Regions from separate parts of the Homo sapiens genome. Here region 2 is linked to region 1. Evidence: promoter capture Hi-C in human tissues and cell types (Jung and others, 2019). All regions are on one chromosome and are shown on one strand. The core of a region is centred on a gene start or on the middle of the fragment in contact, and the rest is flanking DNA. Distances in the headings are between cores, read along the strand shown.

Region 1 (3,189 bases), core at 459-2,958:
CCCTGCCTTTTCCAATATTAGTACAACAAAGACTTCTTGCTCAATTACTTAAGTGTAAAACTTATGTTTAGGTTAATTTATTCATTTATTCATTTAGCACATATTTATTGAGCACTGAATATGTACCAGATTCTGTGCAAAACACTAGGGATACGGTAATGAACATGATAGACAATGAAGTAAGAGGAGGCCTGGAAGAAGCAGGTGACAAATAATATGAACCAGAAAATTTCACATAGTGATTAATACCAGGAGAAATAAAACAAAGTGATGTGCGAGCAAATGATTTTGAGGTTACTTTAGATTGTCTGGAAAGGTGGCATTTGTGTCGGGAAACAAGTGATGAAGAGTAATTTGCATGCCAAGAACTGGAACATAACACTTCAGGCCTTAAGGTAGAAATGAGGTGGTAGCTTGGCACATTCACATACAAAAGGAAGAGGTGTAATGTGTAAGGAAGAGACAGTTAGGGAGAAGCCAGGCCTTTTTGGTCATAAAAAGGAATATAGAGTTTAAGTGCAATGAGAAGCCATTGGATATTCACTTGCTATTTGGGGATACATTCCTCTCCTGGAAGATTATTTCAGGGAGAGGAGCATTCCTACATCAACTCCCTAGGCCAACTAAGGTGACCTAATAGACTTCACTTTTCTAAAAGGTCCAGTTATACTCACGTTATTTTCTCTTGCTATTCACCAGAATACCTATGCAATTTCAGGCTGAGATATTGATAGCATCTCTAGGAATCCCTGCTTAGAAAACAATTCTAGAGAGAATGAGGATTAATTTAACATTTAGTACAAGATGATAAGATTAGTCACTTCCCTGGCAAGCCTTTCAATGCAAGTAAGTCTTAGGAAAAACATATTGTAATGGTAGAGGGGGATTCTGAGGGGTCCAGAACATGACTGTGCAGTAGGCAGAATGTGGAAGGCAGCATGAGGGGCTCCTAGATAACAGAAAGGGGTCCACAGAAGGAGAAGAGTGATGTTTGGAAGGGGACATGAGAAAGCCTCTAAAACAACATCAGCCAATTCGTGATTTTGCCAAGTGGAAGCCTGATATGAGCATGTTCCAAGAGAAACATTCTCATTCAAACACAGAAAAAGTTTAAACCAGGGTACTTTTATGCTTTTGACTGATCTTTTTATAATGAAGCATTTGTAACAATAAAAGCACACAGATGTTTACAAAGTCTCTTTGATTTTACTTAATCACTGTCAGGTTGTTCTGATGGATTACAGACCTCACAAATGAAAATAGCATGAACATATTAATGATAACTGCTGTTTGTTGGAGGTAGTTGCTTGATAGCTAGTTAAGGAAATCATGCTCTTGGGTCTCATTTTACTGTAGAGATGTTGGTAAGTGGGATATGGGGTATATTGGATGATTTTCTTTCCCCTAAGCATTTGTGACAAGAAGGTGCTATGATATTCAGGAAAGACACAAATAATAGTAGATTATTTTAAAGGTAATCATGGCCTACTTCCACCTCCAAACTACCTACTTCTTTGCCAAGGATTAACAATGAAAAAATATACTATAGCTCCAGGACTTTGTTCAGTCTCCTCCCCCTCTTTATACTCCAAGTGACTCCTTTGAGGCTAGCAAGGCTAGTAGGACCTCAGGGATTACCTAAGAATGGGGTATGGCCCTTAGTGATACTGGAACACAATGTGTTTATGACATCAGCTTTTTTTTCACAGTAGTGAATCGTAGCATGTTAGAGTTAGAAGGTTCAGTGTTGATGGAGTTATTGAAGAAATGATGGAGTAAGAGGTGAGTGATACTGCTAAATGCAAGAAGTCTATGTCTGTAGGAAAATTGGTCAAGTTTGTTATTCATAAGTACGTATTCTATACAACTCAAGAAATACACACACACACACACATATATATAGTGAAGTCTGAATATAAATTAGGAACTGAGCACTTCCTCTCCGTGTGTGTGTGTGTATATATATAGATATCCTGGGGGATTATTTAAAGAGAGTAGTATTTTTACATCAGCTCCCTAGGCCAAGTAAGGTGACCCAATGGACTTCACTTTTCTAAAAAGTCCAGTTACACTTATGTATCTTCTCTTAATATTCACCAAAATATCGACAATATTTCGGGCTGAGATGTTGATAACATCTCTAGGAATCCTTACCTACTGGTATTCACACCTGTTCATACTCCCCTTCCAAAATGAATCACAGCTGACCATGTGATCAGTACTGTACAGCAGAAAACTACATCATAAAGACATACACTATGGCTTCTGCCTTGTTCTTTTGTATTCTTTGCTTTCTTATGTTGCTCATTTTGGGGAAACCAGATGCCATGTTTTAAAAATACTCAAGGATCCCTTGGATTATTTTTTGAAGCAGAGGTTCATACAGATATTATTAACATTTCAGCCCAAAATATTGTCGGTATTTTGATGAATAGTAAGAGAAGATACATAAGTATAACTGCACTTTTTAGAAAAGTGAAGTCCATTGGGTCACCTTACTTGGCCTAGGGAGCTGATGTAGAAATATTGCTCTCTCTAAATAATTCTCCAGGATATCTATGTGTATATAGGTATATGTATGTATATGTATATACCTATGGAGAGAGAAGAAGAGCTCAGTTCCTAATTTATATTCAGACTTCACTATGTGTGTGTGTGTGTGTGTGTGTGTGTGTGTGTGTGTGTATTTCTTGACTTGCATAGAAGTCTTGAATCTTAGCTCTGTGTGGGAAGAACTGAGGCCTCCTGCTAATAGCAACAACTTGCTAGTTATGTGAGTGATCTATCTTGGGAACAGACCCTGCAACCAAGTCAAGCCTTCAGATGACTGTAGCTTCAGCCAACATCTGACTGAATTTCATGATAGCCCCGACCCAGAGCTATCCAATCAAGCTGCTTCTGGATTCCTGAATCACAGAAACCATAAGATATAATAAATGCTTACTCTTGTCTTAAACCACTAAAATTTGGGGGTAATAGGTTACATAACATTAGATCATGAATATACCTGTGGTTCATTATTTTTGCACCTCTATCATGAAATGTAATATTTGTTACTAGTTCCAACACTGATCTTGAATCTTAGCCCTCTTTCCTATTTAGTGAATTGGGCTGAAACCCTGAAGTTCTCTTTTCTTGTTTCCCTTGAGTTTCTTGTAGCAGCTTGCTTTCTCCTCTGCTTTTTTGAGT
Region 2 (3,187 bases), core at 623-3,122, 58 kb before region 1:
TTCAAACAAACCACTCCTAAATCTGCCTACCTTACCTTACTCATTCCTTCTTGTAAAAACCATAGGAAAGTCTTTGGTCCATGCTTTCTCCTTACGCCTTTGTCTCCTGAGTGACCTTGGTGCTTCCCTATGTTACGTGCAGTGCTTCCTGTTTCTAAGGATGTGTGAGTATAAACTTCTTTCTTCATGACGGTCATTTCTGTTTCTGTGTGTGCATGTCTTATCATACCCAATTAAAACAAATCCCAGATATATTTTAACACAATTCCTCACCATATGTCTGGCATTTAAAACTCCAGTAAGACAACTGTCCCTATTATTGGGATAATCAGGTCATGAATTTCAAAGTATAGTCACAAGAACCCTCTTTGAAGAGGGGGTGTGGTTTCTATCTTACTCCTTGTCAGAAAGAATATAATGACAGCTATCTTTTCTGAATTGTTCAGCACACTCTTCTTCTTCCCCAATTCTGTATTTTCTCCTATATATAGATTGGTTTACCCACCTTCTTCTCCAGTGATCTAGAAGTTGGGACAGTCTATTTTAAATTCCACTTTAAGCCATTACAAATTTCAAAACATTATTAAGCATATTTATATAATTGTCAAATATAAAAACAAAATAACTTTAGTTTTTCATGGGAGATTTAGACCTAGTTTTAATTCTATTGTTTCTAGCATTTAGAATTGCAAAAAAGAAGGCAAATTCCCTTTCATTCTGTTGTATGTAATTTCATTTTGTGTTGTCTAGAATTTTTTAGAGTCTTTCTTTACTTTTGAGCTTTAAAAGTCATCATAATATATTTATTAATTTTTCCTTACATGTAGGAATATCTCAACTCTGGGATCAAATAACTTCTTAAATTGGGAAGGTTTTCTTTTAGGTATCATTGATTATTACCTTTGCTTACTTTATTTTCCTTTGTCCTTTAGAGTTTTCTGTTATTTACAGGTTCAAAAGGTTAGAAATATGACTATTTTCTGTATTCATTATCATATCTTCTATCTTTTTGATCTCTTTATCTTCTCTTTTTGTATTTTAGAAGTCTTGTAATTTGTATCATTAATTCTATTTGCTCAACTCTTGAGCTCCTTCAGGCTGGGGATTATGTCTAATTCTAATTTGTATAGTAAGTGCTATCCTTCTCTCATGTTATACATTTTTAAATAGGTTCCATATTTGTTTTTCCCCTAATAATTCAACCCTCAAAACAGAGATATTTGGCTTTTATAATTTACTGAAGTGTTGGCAGAAACCCTTTCATTCATCTATGAAGGTGAAAGATGTATATAGAGAATTTAGTAAAGCTCCTGGTATGTTTGAGACTCAATTTCTGTCCTCAAGACTGTGAAGAAATTGCTCAAGTATTTTATTTATTTAAATACATGGGTTTGTATGTGTCTGGTGTTTTTTTTTGTGCGTGCATGTGTGTTTGTGTGTGTATGTGTGGTGGGGATGGGAAGAACGTAAGGGAGAACTTATAGTGGCGTCAGAATTCTGACAACAAGAGTTAGGGGAATGTTCGTTATTAAAAGTAATAAGATTTTTAAAGTGTTTCATTCCCAGAGATTAAAGAACTCCTTATCAATCTCGGCTACCCACCTCCTAAGTTGGGACAGTAGTGATGGTTTGACATGAGATCTTATTTGTGTCCTCCACTGGGTGAGACTATACACTGGCTAAAGGTAATACACTCTAGGGGCTGTCCCAGGAAGAGCAGGCCTTTGACTAAAGTTTGTTTGGGAGTGTCAAGCCAGAATGGAGACTAGATGTAGAGGGAGTAGACCATAAGCAGGGAATCAGTACAGTGACCTTGGGTATAGGGAATCCACATGTCAGGCTTGGAATTCAGGAATGGGACTGGGTCAAGCTTAAAGACTAGAACATCAGCAGAGATGAGATTTAAGGAAGCATCATTTGATTGGCAGAATTTTTTTTATCTTCCAGCTATGTAACAACTCAAGAAAATGAGCTCATCTGGGTACAAAGAAAAGAAAAAAGAACTCAAGAAAAATAGACAGATGGACAAATGAATAGGAAGTTTAATTGAAAAGATTGTGTCTCAAGACCAGATACCTTTCTATTGGTCTGCTTCCTCTTCCTCTTCTTCTTCTTCTCACTTCTTCTTTTGTTGGAGTCTTACTCTGTCACCTAGACTGTAGTTCGGTGGCGTGATCTTGGCTTACTCTTGGCTCACTGCAACCTCCACCTCCTGGATTCTAGTGATTCTCCTGCCCCAGCCTCCCGAGTAGCTGGGATTACAGGTGCGTTGTACCACACCCAGCTAGTTTTTGTATTTTTAATAGAGATGGGGTTTTGCCATGTTGGCCAGGCTGGTCTTGAACTCCTGACCTCAGGTGATCTGCCTGCCTCAGCCTCCCAAAGTGCTGGGATTGCAGGCGTGAGCCACTGTGCCCAGCCAATTGGTCTGTTTTCTTCACACAGTCAAATGTTCCTTTAACCACAGAAAGATAAACAAGCGTTTCAGAAAATACTATTGAAAAGCTCCCAGGGCCGGGTGTGGTGGCTCAGGCTTGTAATCACAGCACTTTGGGAGGCCAAGGCAGGCAGATCACTTGAACCCAGGAGCTGGAGACCAGCTGACCAGCCTGGGGAACATGGTGAAACTCCTTCTCAAAAAATTAACCGGGCATGGTGTCATATACCTGTAATCCTAGCTACTCGGGAGGCTAAGGCTGGAGGATTGCTTGAGCCCAGGAGGTCGAGGTTGCATGTGAGCCGTGATTATGCCACTGCACTTCAGCCTGGGTGACAGTGAGATCTTATTTACCAAAAAAAAAAAAAAAAAAAAAAAAAAGGCTCCTAGGATCCAGGACATTCTTTTTAAGTAATCCTCCCCAAGGAATATAATTATAACAAGTTGATAGTTACCTATTTTTTATTAGCCCAGTGCCACTTCCACAGTAAAACCTATTATCTTATACCTGGAGTGATATAACTTGTTTAAAAATTTATAATTTTTAATAGGTAATTCCGTTGTTGTCTTAATGAGATAGCAATGTGTTTAGCAGAAACATGGCAATAGACACTCTTAGAGGATTTAAAGTTTCACAAATGGCAAATTATTTGGAAGTGAATAAATTAGTTATATAAAATAAGAGACAACCAGAATGCTTCCAGGTGAAAATTCAGGCTTTCTAAGAGACCCCAGTCTGGGAGCATGCTT

Evidence for each region. The method cuts DNA at HindIII sites, captures the fragments that hold promoters and counts their contacts. A contact is called where the count stands out against the background at its distance.
Region 2: a contact is called between a fragment that was not itself captured here and the fragment with the promoter of SLC44A5 in region 1, in 1 of the 25 tissues and cell types used here (spleen).

What each region holds. Positions count from the first base shown.
Region 1 is chr1:75,609,633-75,612,821 of GRCh38, reverse strand. SLC44A5 (solute carrier family 44 member 5) reads left to right here and starts at 1,708. Exons shown (of 24, transcript NM_001130058.2): 1 at 1,708-1,782. The HindIII fragment of the contact is 17,791 bases long and covers 1-3,189 here.
Region 2 is chr1:75,667,947-75,671,133 of GRCh38, reverse strand. It overlaps a transcript of SLC44A5 not described here. Among named protein-coding and RNA genes, the nearest start is that of ACADM, 55 kb to the left of the region's middle. The HindIII fragment of the contact is 6,184 bases long and covers 1-3,187 here.